5 separate regions of the Homo sapiens genome follow, and all the other regions are linked to region 2. The links are contacts of gene promoters, found by promoter capture Hi-C in blood cells and fetal thymus (Javierre and others, 2016). All regions are on one chromosome and are shown on one strand. The core of a region is centred on a gene start or on the middle of the fragment in contact, and the rest is flanking DNA. Distances in the headings are between cores, read along the strand shown. Region 1 has its middle 5.3 kb from the start of TMEM44-AS1. Region 2 holds the start of ACAP2 (ArfGAP with coiled-coil, ankyrin repeat and PH domains 2). Region 3 has its middle 5.4 kb from the start of FAM43A. Region 4 overlaps LSG1 (large 60S subunit nuclear export GTPase 1). Region 5 overlaps ATP13A3 (ATPase 13A3).

The links. The method cuts DNA at HindIII sites, captures the fragments that hold promoters and counts their contacts. A CHiCAGO score of 5 or more calls a contact.
Region 1: a fragment that was not itself captured here is called in contact with the fragment with the promoter of ACAP2 in region 2 in 1 of 17 cell types (neutrophils); the score reaches 5.8 in neutrophils.
Region 3: a contact is called between a fragment that was not itself captured here and the fragment with the promoter of ACAP2 in region 2, in 2 of 17 cell types (non-activated CD4 T cells and neutrophils). The highest score is 6.8, in non-activated CD4 T cells.
Region 4: a fragment that was not itself captured here is called in contact with the fragment with the promoter of ACAP2 in region 2 in 1 of 17 cell types (naive CD8 T cells); the score reaches 6.9 in naive CD8 T cells.
Region 5: a fragment that was not itself captured here is called in contact with the fragment with the promoter of ACAP2 in region 2 in 1 of 17 cell types (neutrophils); the score reaches 5.1 in neutrophils.

Annotation. Positions count from the first base shown.
Region 1 is chr3:194,577,342-194,580,638 of GRCh38, reverse strand. No RefSeq gene overlaps it. Among named protein-coding and RNA genes, the nearest start is that of TMEM44-AS1, 5.3 kb to the left of the region's middle. The HindIII fragment of the contact is 7,555 bases long and covers 1-3,297 here.
Region 2 is chr3:195,441,114-195,444,718 of GRCh38, reverse strand. ACAP2 (ArfGAP with coiled-coil, ankyrin repeat and PH domains 2) reads left to right here and starts at 1,699. Exons shown (of 23, transcript NM_012287.6): 1 at 1,699-1,924. The coding sequence starts at 1,872. RefSeq lists silencers at 1,335-1,834, 1,955-2,174, 2,195-2,244 and enhancers at 1,656-2,155, 2,695-2,784. The HindIII fragment of the contact is 4,201 bases long and covers 1-3,031 here.
Region 3 is chr3:194,689,638-194,692,948 of GRCh38, reverse strand. No RefSeq gene overlaps it. Among named protein-coding and RNA genes, the nearest start is that of FAM43A, 5.4 kb to the right of the region's middle. RefSeq lists an enhancer at 3,250-3,311. The HindIII fragment of the contact is 8,231 bases long and covers 1-3,311 here.
Region 4 is chr3:194,648,897-194,652,643 of GRCh38, reverse strand. It overlaps LSG1 (large 60S subunit nuclear export GTPase 1), which reads left to right. Exons shown (of 14, transcript NM_018385.3): 9 at 1,428-1,529; 10 at 1,620-1,763. Among named protein-coding and RNA genes, the nearest start is that of TMEM44, 17 kb to the right of the region's middle. The HindIII fragment of the contact is 3,313 bases long and covers 841-3,747 here.
Region 5 is chr3:194,479,582-194,483,092 of GRCh38, reverse strand. The region is part of intron 2 of ATP13A3 (ATPase 13A3); the gene reads left to right. Among named protein-coding and RNA genes, the nearest start is that of ATP13A3, 5.7 kb to the left of the region's middle. The HindIII fragment of the contact is 8,673 bases long and covers 1-3,511 here.

The sequences.
Region 1 (3,297 bases), core at 798-3,297, 860 kb after region 2:
TTTTTTTTGTATTTTTAGTAGAGACGGGGTTTCACCATGGTCTCGATCTCCTGACCTCGTGATCCTCCCGCCTTGGCCTCCCAAAGTGCTGGGATTACAGGTGTGAGCCACCGCACCTGGCCCCAAGCAACTGACTTTTAAATATTTCAGCAGAAAAAAATTATAAATTTTTCAGGTAGTTGGAGAGAGACAAAGCAAACGGAAAAACGGGAACAATGGATTAATCTAGGCGAATAGCATAAACATGTTCGTTATTCTTTCATCTTTTCTGTAGGTTGGAAGTTTTTCAAAGCCAGCTGGGTGAGAAAGAACAGGAGTAAAGAAAGATTCTCGCCAGGCGTGGCTCACGCCTGTAATCCCAGCACTTTGGGAGGCCGAGGCAGGTGGATCACCTGAGGTCAGGAGTTCGAGACCAGCCTCACCAACATGGAGAAACCCTGTTTCTACTAAAAATACAAAATTAGCCGGGTGTGGTGGCACCTGCCTGTAATCCCAGCTACTCAGGAGGCTGAGGCAGGAGAATTGCTTGGAGCCAGGAGGCGGAGGTTGCGGTGAGCTGAGATGGCGCCATTGCACTCCAGCCTGGGCAACAAGAGCGAAACTCCATCTCAAAAACAAAAAAAGGCCGGGCACAGTGGCTCACGCCTATAATCCCTGCACTTTGGGAGGCTGAGGCGGGTGGATCACCTGAGGTCAGCAGTTCGAGACCAACCTGGCCAACGTGGTGAAACCCTGTCTACTAAAAATACAAAAATTAGCCAGGCGTGGTGGTGGGCACCTGTAATCCCAGCTACTCGGGAGGCTGAGGTAGGAGAATTTCTTGAACCCAGGAGTCAGAAGCTGCAGTGAGCTGAGATTGCACCACTGCACCCCAGCCTGGGCAACAGAGCGAGACTCCATCTCAAAAAAAAAAAAAAAAAAAAAAAGAAAGAGTCTCACAGTTGGCCCATCATGAGATGGGGTCTCCACGCATCTCCACCACTGTTGCCAGCAGAGGACCCTGAAATTCTAGGGCTTTGCAAGGAAAGAGCTGGTTATTAGAGACTGCTTTTCAAGCAGCTTCCCAAATGTGGCTGGATTCTGGGCCGACTAATTGTCGTGTGATGTCAGGCCACAAAGGGTGGATAAATTCCAGTTTGTCTGGTACTGAGAAAAAAATAGGCCCCATATCTTAGACAGCCCTGATAAGGTGCCTCCATGGATATGAGTAATGGTCAGACCCAGGGGATGACCCAGGACTAAGAAAGCTGGACAATGGAAAGTCTGGAGCACTGTGACAGGGAAATTCTTCCCCTGAATTGCCTTTTCCTATTGAGATAAGATAGTACACAATAAAGCGCCAGGCTCAGAAGTGCTGCTGCCAATCCCAGCCAGGGCAGCCAGCACTCGGCCCGAGCTGACGCACATCAGTGCCCGGGGCTGTCAGCACCTGTGTGGTCTCCAGAACGCCAGCTCTGATGGGGACCAGTCCTAACTCCCACCATTCACCAACTGTGGGACTCCTATTCTTGTTCATTAAAAAAAAAAGAAAAGAAAGAAAGAAAAAAAGTGTACTCCTCTTCTACCTGCTTTACTCTATGGTGCCTCCAAAAACTAGAAACCATGCCGGGCGTGGAGGCTCACGCCTGTGATCCCAGCACTTTGAGAGGGGCGGATCACCTGAGGTGATCAAGACCAGCATGGCCAACATGGTGAAACCCCGTTTCTACTAAAAATACAGAAATTAGCTGGGCATGGTGGTGGGTGCCTGTAATCCCAGCTACTCAGGAGGCTGAGGCAGGAGAATCACTTGAACCAGGGAGGTGGAGCTTGCAGTGAGCTGAGATCGTGCTATTACACTCCAGCCTGGGCAACAAGAGCAAAACTCCATCCAAAAAAAAAAAAACACACACACACACAGAAAAAAACTAAAAGCAAACCATGAAAGGGCCTTTCCACTCCCAAATGCTATAAAGGTATCAGTTATTATTATTACTTCCTTAGCATGAAGCAGTTAGTTTTGTAGATTCTCTCTCTTTTTTTTTCTTTAAGACACAGGGTCTGGCTATGTTGCCCAGCTGTTCTCAAACTCCTGGCTCAACGATCCTCCCACCTTAGCCAGCCTAGTAGGTGGGACTACAGGCACGTGCCACCCAGCCCAGCTAGCATCCCCTGTTTTAGGTCTAGTTCCATATTTCTTTAAAAGTCATCAGGATGTCTTTTAGGTCCTGAGTATATTTTTATTATGAGATTGTATAAGTAAAGACCTTTGAACTTCTGAGGAGGCAAGATTGAGACACCTTAGATGCTCCACTGTCTCCTGAGTGAGCAGAGTGGCAGAGGCTGTTACCCTTTTAATAGCACCTTAACCGGGAAGTAGACCCCTTGTAGGCAAGCAGTGACTCACCCACACTGTCACGAATGAGTCAGTGTCCCAGCCGAGCAGGGGCTGGCAGCCTCCTACTTCACGGGGTGGGAAGCAAGGCCTAGGCTCAGTCCTGGATATTGGTCTTGTCACGTTAGGGGTGGTAGCACAGAGCCCGCAGAGTGGAAAGGAGCTGATGCCTTTGGATTGGTCTTCAGGAGGAGAGGATTGAGCTAATGGGCATGTGATACAGAGAAAGACTGTAAGTTAGGGTAAAGGAGAGCTTTCATGTGGTCCTGTCTGAGCTGCAATGGTTGCACGGGCTCCGTGTTACTGGAGTAATTCCAACACAGCCTCAACCCACCTATAGAGATGTTTTGGGCCAGGCACGGTGCCTCACACCTGTAATCCCAGCACTTTGGGAGGCCAAGGTGGGTGGATCATTTCAGGCCAGGAGTTTGAGACCAGCCTGGCCAACATGGTGAAATCCCATCTCTACTAAAAATACAAAAATTAGTCGGGCATCATGACGCACACCTGTAATCCCAGCTAGTTGGGAGGCTGAGGCAGGAGAATCCATTGAACCCAGGAGGCGGAGGCTGCAGTGAGCCAAGTTGGCACCACTGCACTCTACCTGGGAGACAGAGCGAGACTCCATCTCAAAAATTAAAAGATGGTTTGGGGAAGATGTTACCATTGACCAGAGAGTTGGATCAGATGGCTTTCAAGACTTTTTCAATGTTAAAAGTCTGAGCTATGGGGCCAGCGTGGTGGCTTACGCCTGTAATCCCAGCACTTTGGGAGGCTGAGGCAGGCGGATGATGAGGTCAGGAGATCGAGAACATCCTGGCTAACACGGTGAAACCCTGTCTCTACTAAAAATACAAAAAAATTAGCTGGGTGTGGTGGTGGGCACCTGTAATCCCAGCTATTCGGGAGGCTGAGGCAGGAGA
Region 2 (3,605 bases), core at 450-2,949:
ATGTGCCTGGCTAATTTTTTGTATATTTTTGTAGAGTTGTAGAGACAGGATTTCACCATGTTGCCCAGGCTGGTCTGGAACTCCTGGAGCAAGGAATCTGCTCACCTCGGCCTCCCAAAGTGCTGGGATTACAGGTGTGAGCCACCATGCCCTGTCTATACTGTTAATTTCTAAAGATGCTAAAGAGATCAAGATATCTCTTGATGGGTTACGAAAAACAGTATGTCATCACGCTATACTTAGCCAGACGGTCAGAAAGTTATATTAAGACTTTAGAAGGCTGGGTGTGTGGCTCACACCTGTAATCTCAGCATTTTGGGAGGCTGAGACAGAAGGATCACTTGAGGCCATGAGTTTGAGACCAGCCTGGGGAACGGAACGAAATTGTTTGATTGTTTTTGAGACAAACAAAAACTTCAGACAGTGAAAGTGAGAGAACTTAGACTTAAGCCCTTTGATTATAGTACTGAAGAGGCAAATGGTACAATTAAAATAGCCAACATTTACTGAATGATCGATATGTGGCACTGTGTTAACCGGACAACTTCATCAGATCTGTGTGTTATGTTCATTTTAAAGTGAGAAAGCTGGGACCTAAATCCAGGAAGTTTGCCTCCAGATTCTCACTCAGAGCCACTATGCTGTTAGAACACCCTGTATATTCATTTTTATAGATACGCCCGTGTTTTTTAGGTTGGCTTAAAAATTACTCATTACATATAAGACATCTTTGTACTTTTTACAATCAATGGCATCTTAAAATGAAGGAGTATGGTAAATACCTGCCGTGAGGATCAGATGATAAGTATCTTAAAGTGCTTCTAGAAAAAGTGTGGATTAGAGGGGCAGGTGTTGCAAGGTGAGTACGATGAGCCTGGTCTTCAGAACCCCACCATGGCAGAACAGTGAAAACCACCAGGAGCAAAGTGTCAGTGAGGGGGAATGCTTTCGGCAGTTTTGAGAGGAGTTCCTCCACACGAAGCACCCTACCTCCCATACCTGCCTAAATCTTTCTATGTCCAACCCAAACGGCAGCTCCTTCAGGAAGTGGTCTCTGGCTATATGAGAAGATGTACATGGGAGCAATTTCCAGATTATGAAGCTATGGAACAAATACATGAAAGATGGATTTTATCACTAAAGTTATCCTCGCTCCTCTTCTGGCCTCAGTTTCTCTAAACTGAAAGGAATAGGTGGCTTAGCCTATCTCTTCCTTTTATAATTTCTGCCTCTAACCTCTTCAGATTTCTGCCAATCTGCTTTGAAAAGCAAATTTCCTTCCTCAGACCTGCAGGAGACTGCTCCTCTGGGCTGGCAGCTCAGCAGGGCGGGGCTCGGGGAGCAGGAGAAGAGGCGGGGGCTCGGAGGGAAGCGCGGCCGCAGCCACGTGACTTCCTTCCCAAGGAACCTCAGCTGCCGGCCTCCCAGCAACCGGTGCGTCCCGCCTAGCGACGCCCGCGCATCCCGGTTGGCCCTCGGGGGCGGTTGTGGCAAGGAGGTGCCCACGGTCGCGCTGCTCATTGGCTCGGGTTGCCGTCGCTCAGACCCGTTGCCCGGGCGCCCGCAGGCGGTGCTGCCGGATGCCCCGCCCCTTGGCCGCCAGGTTCGTGGCTGGCTGGCCGCTGCTGTCACTCCCCGGCCGTTTCCCTGCGGCCAGCGCTCTACTTGGGGCGGGAGGAAGAGGGGCGGGACTGGGGCCTGACTAGTCGTCGCCGTCTTCGCGGCTGCTATGACCAGCGGGCGAGGCGCCCTTCGCAGCTCCGCGCAACGCTAGTCGCGGCCGTGCGCCCGCCGTAGCCGTCTGCGTCCCAGCGCGGCCGCTCCCGCGGCCCCCTCGGCTTTGCCAGCGCCGCCTGCGAGGCGGAGGCAGGATGAAGATGACTGTGGATTTCGAGGAGTGTCTGAAGGACTCGCCCCGCTTCAGGTAACCGGCACGGCCGCCCGGCGTCACCGCGGAGCTGCCTTCCCGGCGCTGGGGGCGTGAAAGCCGGGCCCGCGCACCCGGAGGAGGCCCCGCCGTCCGCTCCTTCCGACGGGGCGAGCGGCTGTTGCCGCCGTTTCCCACCCTGCGAGGGCACTGCAGTCCCCACCGAGCCCTCCCGAGGGGCGACGAAGTGGCGGGGACGGGGACGTCGCCTCTCATTTCTTTCCTTGCCCTCTGCCGGGGCGGAGCGCCCCGAAGGCCGGCGCACCCTCTCCCGCTGGGGGAAATGGGGTGCAGCCGCGCTCCCGAAGTCCCGTCCCCTTCGCGGGCGCTCGCTCTCGCCCCCTTCCTCCTCTGGCTGCTCTTCCTTCCCCCTTCCTTCCGCCCCTTCTTGGTTTCCACCCCCTCCCCACCCCCTCTTTGAGGGAGCTTTCAGGGCATCCTCTTGCAGTTCATTTAGTTCCTCTTTGCGCTTTTCTGCCCCCCTTCCCCGGGGAGGAGAGAGTAGGGGGCGAACTGGGACGCCGACTTCTGCTTCGCGGTGCCCCCGGCCAGAGCGACTCTCCGGAGGGCGCCCGCGGTGGATGCGTGCGGGAATCGCGGGGGGAAGCGCTGTGATCAACCGCATTCCGTGGACCCTAGTTGGTGACTACCTGCTTTTCTTTCCACTTAAGCTCGTTGAAGGGGGCACAGCTGTCGAGAGGTACCGGGCTGAGGGCGGAGGACTAGCAGAAAAGTGCATTTCTGTTTTGAGAACGGAAGTAGGAGGGCCGTGAAGATTGCCTGTGTGTTCCTCTTCCAGCAGCCTCTGCCCAGGAGGGCCCGGATCACAGTCGGATGCTCCCAGTGGATCTGTCACAGAGTTGACATGGGGGCACTCCGATTCACATGGGTTGCCCTTCTTTCTATGTGAGAGGCGGTCGTCCTGAGGCCGTCCAGGACACAGGTTCTTTCTGTTTTGAGGATAGTAGGAAAGTCTTGAGTTGTTTTGGACAATGGAGTTTTTCTAGGTTGCGTTTTACAGTGTATTTATTTACAGGGCTGGTCATAGTCCTTACAAATATAAGGCCTTAACACTTCCGTTAGATAGTGACATTTCTTGAAGCTTCCTCTGAGCACTGGCGTGTGTGTGCCCGCTAATGTCTGGGCCAAGCCTGGATTGTAAATTGCATCCTCTGCCTGGGAACTAACTGTTCTCATCCTTAACACTGTTAATTGGATTTCTTATTCTCCTTTCAGCGAAAAAGAAAAGAATTGTAAAACTAAGGAACTGCTACTTAGAGAAAATTTAAGAACGCTTTTTGCGTTTGCCCTTTGATGATTTTTGGGTATTAATTTTATTGGAGCCTAGGGCTATTATTTAAAAAAACCCACTTCCTTTGATAGCTGTTGTTGCGATTCATTTTTGAAACTTTTATGTTCTGCATTATTGAAGGACTCAAGAGACACAAATAGATTTCCTAGGACAGGCGTGCAGGTTGGTTTCCAGGACAGCATGGCAAGTGGAGTAATTTTTAAAGTGCACCTTAGAAAGTTCAGCTTTTTGTGAAATTTTGTTACTATGACTCAGCTATTTATTTTTAAGTGAAATAATCACAGCATTTTTCCCTTAGAAGATGTAGCTTTGAACTCCCTTTGTTTCACATTAATTTTTTTTTTTTTTTAAGTTGAGAGAAGTGAT
Region 3 (3,311 bases), core at 13-2,512, 750 kb after region 2:
GAATAGGTTAATGCTCTCCCTGTGGGGAGACGGAGGCAATGAGTGATTTCTCTCTCACTCGAGAGCAGGTTGTCCAAAAGAGCCTGGCACTGCCCTTCTCCCTATCTCTTGCTTCCTTCCTCTTGCCATTTGATTCCTGCTCCAGTTCACCTCCCGCCATGAGTGCAAGCAGCCTGAGGCCTCACCAGAGCAGAAGCTGGCACCACACTTCTTGTACAGCCTGCAGAACCTTGAGCCAAATAAACCTCTTTCCTTTATAAATTACCCAGCCTTGCCAGGCATGGTGGCTCATGCCTGTAATCCCAGCACTTCGGGAGGCCAAGGCGGGTGGATCACTTGAGGTCAGGAGCTCAAGACCAGCCTGACCAACATGGTGAAACCCTGTTTCTACTAAAAAAAAAAAAAAGCACAAAATTAGCCGGGTGAGGTGGAGGGCACCTATATTCCCAGCTACTCGGGAGGCTGAGGCAGGAGAATCGCTTGAACCCGGGAGATGGAGGTTGTGGTGAGCCAAGGTCATGCTATTGCACTCTAGCCTGGGCAACAAGAGTGAAACTCTGTCTCAAAATAAATAAATCAATAAATATAAATAAATTACCCAGCCTCAGGTATTCTTTATAGCAACACGAAACGGACTAAGACAGTGGACATGTGCAACAAGCCTGGAGCAGAGAGTGCAGAGCGCCCTGGGCCTAGCACCCTCCTGGCTGCCTGGAGCCCTGAGTAGTTCCCCATGTGTCAGTCATGGCTCCTACCCCAGCAGTCCGTGCACATTTCTAGCTCTGTCATGCATCACTTAGCAGCAGATGCTGGGACTACTGATGCATACCACACAGAGGAAAGAGTTCTGCTTATTAAATTACTAAATCCTGTTTAAAAAGACGGCAACTTGCTCCTAATAGAATTTCTATGTTTCTCGTGATCCTTGGCAACTACAATGAGATTTTTAAATCTCCAGTATGGTGCCAGGGGTAGATTCTTCCAACCAGTTCTCTCTCTACTCACAAGCAGAACCCTCAAAAACAGCTCTGTCCCCTGGGAGGGAATTGTGCTTTCTTAGTATAACAGAGCCTTTCTAATTTGGTTAAAATCTGTTCTGCTGACTGTGGGGCAGTGAGAGGTGTTTCTTTAGGGAAACCATGTGTGTCCACACACGTGTGTGTGGAGGGGGTTCTCTGAAGCTGTCATAGTTGGGAGGGTATGAAATACTATTGTTTATTTTATGCCATTTTATTCCTCCCACCTTCCTGCTTACATATGCGACAAATGGTAGAAGTGAACATGGGATGTTTGTGCTGTGAGGAGTCGATGAATGCCTCCTCCCAGACTCACGCTGCCACCCCTGGAGGACCGCGTGCCGCCGGGAGTCACCCTGTTTTTCATGCAGTCGATGCTGCATTGTTGAACACGGAGGATTACCTAGGCTGGGAAAGAACGTGGAAAGTGTCTCAGTGCATTTAAAGTACCATCAGGTTAAGTCATGGAGAAACATGAGCCTCACTTTGCAGGAAAGAAAAGCTAAATTTGATGAGTAAACCAGACTTCAGGTGTTTTCTGGAAGGTGTATTTTATCTAATGACTTAGCTTTGCTTTTGTCGCTCCATTCTTTTCCCTCTGAGCTCCAGGAGCAAAGTAGTTTTAGGGTCTTTCTTTTATTTTCATTCAAAACATCTCTTCTTACTCTAGTGATATCATCCCTGGAAGACTGAGAAGTCAGAAGAGGTGAATCACGTGTCACCTTCACATCTCTTCTAGAATTACATCAGTCAGAGCTCTGAGGTGCAGTGGGGATCGATGCCAAAAAGCAGAGGGGAGGAAGGAGAGATGGGGAGGGCACAGACGGAGGAGGAAGGGAGCTGGCTCTTTCCAGCCTGCTTATTTTCTTCTTCCTCCTCCTCAACCTTCAAGCCCCCCTTCCTATTTATAAATCACATGAGAGGAAATATCAGACTTTAAAGAGATGGCTGCTTTATATTTATTGATGGTGTTGGTTTCAACACTATTTGCCTGAACTTTTGGACCAACCACCACATGCCTGTCAGTCACAGATGAAAGCCAACATTGGCATTCTCACAGGACACTTAAACTAGATAAGAATGAAGACACACAGACCCTGCCCTGTCTCCCAAGTATTAGCCATATTATCTTCACTCTGTCTCATCTCTTCATCAGTTTCAAACAGCAGAGGAACTTGGCTATGCATGGGAATAATTTCAAATGTGAAATCTAGTCACGCAGGCTAGTGATGGCCCACACAGCCGTCTGCTTATCAGGTGAGCACACTGGTGTGGAAGGGCTGGGATGGGTGGCTGGGCTGAGACTGGACTTTCCTGACCTCTCTCTAGCTGGGGTTTTTAATGTCATTCAATGATGTGTATCTGAGGTATTCAGGGAGAGGGATCGGGACGCACAACCAAGCCAAAATATAATAGATTCAAAGGCCTGGACGTCCTAAGGCCCTTAAGACTGAATTTTTTTTAAATGTTTTCCACTCAGCTGGGTACAGTGGCTCACGCCTGTAATGCCAGCACTTTGGTAGGCTAAGGTGGGCAGATCACCTGAGGTCGGGAGTTTGAAACCAGCCTGACCAACATGGAGAAACCCCATCTCTACTAAAAATACAAAATTAGCCCGGCGTGGTGGCGCATGCCTGTAATCCCAGCTACTTGGGAGGCTGAGGCAGGAGAATCGCTTGAACCCGGGAGGTGGAGGTTGCGGTGAGCTGAGATTGCACCATTGCACTCCAGCCTGGGTGACAAGAGTGAAACTCCGTCTCAAAAAAAAAAAAAAAATATATATATATATACACACACACACACACACACACACACACACACATATTTTCCACTCGCCCCCTTTGCTTTTCTTTTTTAAAGATAGTTCTATGCCTGAACCATTCCTGTTAATTAGGAAGAAAATCTTTCACCCCTCTTTCCTCTATGGTTCCAGTGAATTCCAGACTCCTTAGGATTTCTGGGTCTAGCTGCTCAGAACATATTTATGATGAAAACAAAGCAAAGTGGCCTCAGGACACCAGGGAAGGCCAGGAGTGAGATCCATTTCTGCAACACAGGAAGAGAGGCCTCAAGGGGCAAAAGGAAAATATAATTTGCAGAAGGCACAGTTTTGGCAGCATCTTATTACAACTTCCAGCTGATCGGGTGTAGCCAAACTAGAGACATCTGTTTGGAGTTTACAACAGAAACAAACACACAGAAAGCATGAAAGCGCTGAAACATGCACACCCATACCGCGCTCTAACAGCTCCTCTCCCCCTCGACCTTCGCGCCATCCCCCAACTGGGTCACACT
Region 4 (3,747 bases), core at 1,248-3,747, 790 kb after region 2:
CCAGGCTTCCGGCATCGTAGGGAACATTGCCCTCTTGTTGCCCACTGGCATCACGGGATTAGGCAGTGGGATAGACAGAGCCCAACTCAAAGGAATCAACTTCCTCAAGGCCTGTGTTGGTAACATACCTATTCACATTGAATGTATTCTCCAGTCTCCTTTCAGTTCAGCTTTTCCTGCCGTGTGAAGTACCAAGACAGCAGAATGAGAGAGATGTTAATGTTGTCTTCAGACTTCAGCCCAGTGTTCTTTGGGCACCCTGTGATCCTTGCCAGCTTATGCTGTAAATGTTCCAGATGCTTAATAGGGAGAATCCCAGCATCTTGGGGCTGGACGAAATATGACAAATGCATTAGTTGCATAAACACTGCATAGTAGATAGGGGAAAGCAGATCCCATCCCCAGCCTTACATACCCTAATTCCAGAAGTGGCTGCGGAAGTGCGCAAACCCCGAGGGGCTACGACATGGCTCTAGATGGCCCCATCCTTAGCTAAGGAGATGTGAGATGTTAGAGAAGGTATTGATTATAAAGACCTATCCAGAATATAACAGTGAGGGAAAGGAGGTCATGGCATGTTTAAAGTCTCCCAGCTTTTCAGTTACATGCTAAGTGTAGCTAATCCTAGTTAGTTTTGAGCCCCCTTCTCTCTGCCCCAACCCCCTGCCCCAAAATGCCTGTTTAAAATGACTACAGTAGATTAGCATCTTATTTTAGTGCAGTAGTTAAAAGAGCTGTCTGTGGAATCAGACAGACCTAGGTGTAATTCCCAATTCAGCAGTAGAACTAACTTGTTAGGAACACGGGGAAAGTTGCTTAATGTCTCTGAGCTTTAAAGCTTCATTCTCTATATTGTTGCTAAAAATTTGTATCAGAAAGTTCAGCTTCTCTACAAGTTTTCTCACATTTATGGAAAAACTGAGCATCCTCCCTCATTTTCTGAATTTCTTACTCTAGAAATTCTGCAGACACTTATTGATCACCTGCCACATGCCAGACATTCCACTTGGCTTTAACTAAAACGTGACTGAAAATTAAAAATAATTGTGTGTTGTGATTATTCAAATGTCCATCCGATCAGCCTCACCCAGTGTGGAAGATGCGATGGAAACCACTGTCTGTAGATGGGGCAGTGAGGGAAGGCTGGGAACAAGGGGATGAAATTTTCTGTAGCATCTGCTGTTAACAGCAAAACATATAATATTAAAATGTGCATAACTTGGCCATTTGTCACTGGAGATGTGTCTGAATAAATATACCCACACCACAGGAGAAAAAAGATGTCTCAACAAACACAGCATGGATTTCAAATAATTTTCTAAAGTAACCAGATGCTTATGCTAGTCTTGCCACCATCTATGTCATATCTTTGAGTCTTTTGATAGATGTACTGTTTTACTGTTTGGTAACTTCTGAGTCTCTTCTAGGTGGGCTACCCTAATGTTGGTAAGAGTTCAACAATCAACACCATCATGGGCAACAAGAAAGTATCTGTGTCTGCCACACCTGGTCACACAAAGCACTTTCAGGTATTTCTGTGGTGCTTTGCCACTTGCATGCAGCTCTTTCTTCCTTTTATCTGTTGTATACCCAGCTCAAACCTCTTGCTTGTCTTCCAGACTCTCTATGTGGAGCCTGGCCTCTGCCTGTGTGACTGTCCTGGCTTGGTGATGCCATCTTTTGTGTCTACCAAGGCAGAAATGACTTGCAGCGGAATCCTCCCAATTGATCAGATGAGAGATCATGTTCCTCCTGTATCACTAATATCCTTTCTGCTTTGGAAACACTCTAGTTATTACGTGCATATTAGGGCTTCAGGTTTATTTTGGGCATTTGAGGGATTCAGATTTGATGAAGAATTGAAAATACTAGTGATCTGCACAAGTTTATACTGTGAGATAGCATGAGAACTTCAGAATAGAACCTCATTTCCTGATTTCAGCAGTGTAGCCTTGAAGAAATGGGAGAATCCAGGTTTCAGATACTCAGTTCCAAGTTGCAAACCTATTTAACAATGCCATGTAACCGTTTGAATGACCTTGGAAAACTTGCTTAACCTTCCCAAATACTTTCCTTTTCTCTAAGTGGGGGAAAATCTATCTCACGGTTGATTATATTTAATCAGTATAGCTAACATATATTGAATACTTGCTATGTGCTTTTCTAAACCCTTACCAAATACCTTTTAGTCCTCAAAAAGCAACGCTTAAGGCAGATACTGCTGTTATTCCCATTTCCTCAAACTTGAGGAAACTGAGGCACAGAGAAGTTAAATAATTTATCTAAGCTCTTATAGCTAGTAAGCAGTAAATTAGGAACTCTGCTACCTCTCAGCAGCATAATGAATTAACTTACATAAAGCATCTAGGACAGTGCCCAGCATGGAAAAAAGACTCAAAGATGGATTTGTTAAGAACTATGCAGGGGCCAGGTGTGGTGGTTCATGCCTGTAACCCCAACACTTTGGGAGGCTGTGGCAGGCGGATCACTTAAGGCCAGGTTTTGAGACCAGCCTGGCCAACATGGCGAAACCCTGTCTCTACTAAAAATACAAAAATTAGCTGGGCGTGGTGGTGCACACCTGTAGTCCCAGCTACTCGGGAGGCTGAGGCACGATAATCTCTTGAACCTGGGAGGCGGAGGTTGCAGTGAGCTGAGATGGTGCCACTGCCCTCCAGCCTGGGCCACAAAGCGAGACTCTTGCCTTTAAGAAAAAAGAAAATGAAAGAAAAAAAAAACTGCAAGGTCTGAGATTTTACTCTACTTATAAGCTAATAAGTTAGTCTATTATTGTTTTGTAGATACTAGCAGAAAATAGGAGACTTCATGAAATTGGCACACTAATCCGCTGGCTTGTAAGTAGAGTAAAATTCCCTTCATAACTACACTTAAGGCCACAGCTTATTCATAGATACATATATATGAAAAAGTGTATAGCTTTTTTTTTTGTTTTTGAGATGGAGTCTCGCTCTGTCACCCAGGCTGGAGTACAGTGGTGCAATCTCTGCTCACTGCAACCTCCACCTCCTGGGTTCAAGCAATTCTCCTGCCTCAGCCTCCCGAGTAGCTGGGATTAACAGGCATGTACCACCATGCCCAGTTAATTTTTTTTTTTTTTTTTTGGTAGAGATGGGGTTTCACCATGTTGGCCAGGCTGGTCTCAAACTCTTGACCTCAGATAATCTGCCTGCCTCGACCTCCCAAAATGCTGGGATTACAGGCGTGAGCCACCACGCCTGGCCTTTTAAGTTTCTCTGTAAATTAATAGTGAGACATGAATCATTTATTGCAGGTAGCCTTAGGTTAGGTGCTGTGGAGGATAGGGCATAAATAGAGATGGCTCCTGCCCTTTACGAAGCATCAGTCTGTTGGGGCACATGAGGCATGTACTTGAATAACTCTAGTACAAGGTAGAATATTGTTAGTGGCTTAAGGAAAATTTGGACAAACTATGGGAGATGAGACAAAGGAGGAAAAGTAATCCTGCCTAACTGTAGGCATTAGAAACAGAGACTCCCCTTGCTTTATCTCTAAATTAGAATCACAAATGCGTAATCTTTTCAGGGTAAAAATGTGTCATCTTTAAAGTCTGTTTCAGATATATTTTAAATTACTATTTTAAATGAATTCATATGGAAAAGTCGTGGGAGCTTAAGGCCTTGTTTAAAAGGGAAAAAACAACTGAGTCTTTTTAGATTAATCAAAAACTATCCTCTTCCTTTGGAGAGGAGAGAGTGTTTGTCACAC
Region 5 (3,511 bases), core at 310-2,809, 960 kb after region 2:
TACTGTCATCCTGGCTGGAGTGCAGAGGCGCGATCTCCGCTCACTGCAACTTCCGCCTCCTGGGTTCAAGCGATTCTCCTGCCTCAGCTTTCCGAGTAGCTGGGATTACAGGTGCCCACCACCATGCCTGGCTAATTTTTTGTATCTTTAGTAGAGACTGGGTTTCACCATGTTGACCAGTCTGATCTTGAACTCCTGACCTTGTGATCCGCCTGCCTCGGCCTTCCAGACTGCTGGGATTACAGGCGTGAGCCACCACGCCCGGCCTTTAAAATTTTTTTGTAGAGATGAGTATCTCGGTTTGTTGCCCAGGCTTGTCTCAGAACTCCTGGCCTCAAGTGATCCTCCTGCCTCAGCCTCCCAAAGTGTAGGAATTACAGACATGAGCCACCTTGCCCAGCCAAAACCATGTTCTAATTAACCACTTAAGTTCAAATAGCATGCAAGAAGCAAGGAAATTGTTAGGTTCTCGTTTGAGTTTTGTTGAACATCATATTTTGAGAGTAGAGAAGTAAGAGAGGCTCAGATTTCTGGCACATAATTTTAATTAAGATTTAGGTTTAAAAAAATGAAAAAGTTCTGGGCTCAAATTAATCTGGAGAAAAGTAGATATTTGTAAGGTAGAAGAAGGTCCACAGTTAATCAGTTATCACTAGATAACTAGTGATTATAAAAGGAGTTAAAACGATTTGTGTTAGTAGGTTATGCACAGTGACTCATGCTTGAAATCCCAGTGCTTTGGGAGGCCAAGGCAGGAGGATGGCTTGAGGCCAGGAGTTTGAGACCAGCCTGAGTGACAAAGCAAGACTTTGTCTTAAAACAACCAAAAATAATTTGTATTAATCAGGTTAAAAATAGAGGTAAAATGAGATGACATGAGTAAATGGTAATTGGAAAAAATGATCACTGTTATGATAGTTTAAAAAATGACTTTATGGTAATCAGTAAGAAGGGAGAAAAACGGAATAAAGGAGAGAACTGTCCAAATAAGTGTCTGACACTGAGGAAGGTTGTTTGAGGATGGTGATTGCTGAAAAGTTTCCATAAAATGATTCTCTAGAGGGAACTATGCCAATACCATATCTGTTAACATCTTAGACCCACAGGGTCATATTGGAACCTTTGCTAGAGTCTGAGATGGTAAAACATTAACTCGAATAGTAAACGTCAAGACCGCAAAATTAATCTGTTAATCAGAATTTTGTCTTTTTTGTTGATTCTTACACTTACTCCCTGTGGATCTTGGTTTTAAATGATCAATTGACACTCAGAGACTAGTTAGATAAGAAATTAAATTTCCAGAAAAAGTCACTTAAGTATGTAAAGTAGAATTTCCTAATTATGTGGTCTGGAAATTGCTGATGTCTACAGAATCTTTCTCAAGTTTGAAGTAAAAATACTTGTAACTGATGTTGGGTGGTAAGGTGAAAGATGGTTCTAGCTCAGTGAGTTTTTCTTATTTTTTTTTCACAAAGGAGTTGAACATTGAAATAAAGAGGTGTGAGACTGGAAAATAATGCGGAGAGATCATGGATTATTTAGATTAGTGCCTTTTTAGAGAAGAGGAAAGTGAAGTAAGTGACAGCATAAAGGATCCTTTATGGTCTAACCCCAGATCCTTTCTCTAGCTTGGGTGTTCCTTTCACCCTTGCTTTAATTTTGTACTCTGTAGTAATGGCACATCTCAAAACTTTTGCATTTTTTTTTTCCAGTGAGAGCCAACTTTTAAGGGTTGCCTTTGCTTGCTTGACAGACTTCTTGAAACAAACTATTTTTAGTTTGTTTAAAATGAGTCATGGAATTGCTCCCACATATGTGTCTAAGGGTGGTTTCTTCATAGCATCCCTGTTGCTCTGTTTTTTTTTTTTTCCATTTGTGAAATAGGATGAAATATATTTTAGTTATTTATTTTGATATAAAAGACAAGTGTTTTGGGTCCTGATTTTTTTCTGATTGATCTAAAGAGCTGAATAAAGTGCAATCACTGCTCATGGGGCCTTTGGGCCTAAATTCTCAGATAAAAATCCTGTGTAGTCAAAATTACCCTTGGAAAAAGTCTTTTAAAAAGGCACCAGTTTGAAAACTGGTTGGAAACTGACATTCTGTCTTTCAATTCTAGTGTCCAGTTTTTCCTGTAGTTTTAGAGAGGTCCCTTTTTTGGTGAGCTGGAATCCTCACCAGCTGTGTGAGACCGTTTTGACAGGTGAATGGGTCTTAGATTGACTGAGCATAGCGGATTTATAGTCTTCATTTCATGCTCACTCTGGGACAGGGATGTAAAGGAAGGCATACTATCATCATTATTCAAATTATTTTTCTCTGTTGCTTCCCCCCAGAGTGTAAGTAGTTGAATTGGTTTTAATTAAGTGCATATATGATGTGACTCCACAGTGTGAATAATGGAGAAATAACTTAGGTATTTATGAACATCTGCTATCTCCGTAAGGTTATGCCACAAAAAGATCTAGTATAATTAAAAGGCTAGGTAATAAAGTTGAGAATATTAGGAGATTATTGGTACTGTCTGTCATTCTGAGGGGATACTCAACTACTTTGAGTGTTTTTGTTTTGTTTTTTTAAAGAATAAATTTATTCCTTACTGCTAGCAAGATCTGCATTGTTTTAAAAGAGCGATGTAAATTATTAATGGATTCCATGAAATTTAAAGTATCTAAACTTAAGTATTACTCTGGGGATAGCACAGTAAGAAAACATGAGTATGTAAAAACATGATGGTGGCTAAAAACTTAACAGTCTTATGTCCTGGGAGAGGGCATGGTGTATTGGATAAAAATGTGGGCTTCAGAGCCATAGTGATTTTGAATTACAGCTCTGTCACATACCAGTCTTGTAGTCTGGGTTAAGTAAGTCACTGAACCTCTGAGAGCTTTTTTATTTGCCAGATAGAGGTGATAAAGGGTACCTTAGAGAATTGTAAGGATAAGAGTCTGAGTGAAGGGTAACTTATTATTTGTTAACTTAGTAACATTGAAGATATTCAAAACAAGTCAGATGTGTGTGTGGGGTGTGATTGATGATTGCTCTTTGTTTTTTTGTTAACTGGAACAGCAGGCAATAATGTTATATTCAGGCTTTTTATGTCCAAAACAATCTATGATTTTGTATCTTTAGTAGCAACATCCTCAAAAGCTCAAGATGTTAACCTCATGTATCTCCGATATACATTTTATGTATATTTTAGTTTTTCTCTTTGTGTCTCTGGTGTGTTTGCAGTCTGTTTTCTCTCCCATCTTGTTACTGTTACCCAATGTCTCTGTCTCTGACCACCTTATAAAATTTAAAACTATCTGTAATTGTATTTATTTTATAGGACTTTATATGCATTATTTTCATTTAAAAATTCTGATTAGTCAAATATTTCTACTTTTTTTTTAAAGAAGACTTTGAATTATATTTCAATTTTGTGACCTTTAGATTTCTTTAAACATGGAATCCTAGTCACTGGTTCCTTATAGACCGAAGATTTTTCTTTTTTTTAAATTTTATTTTA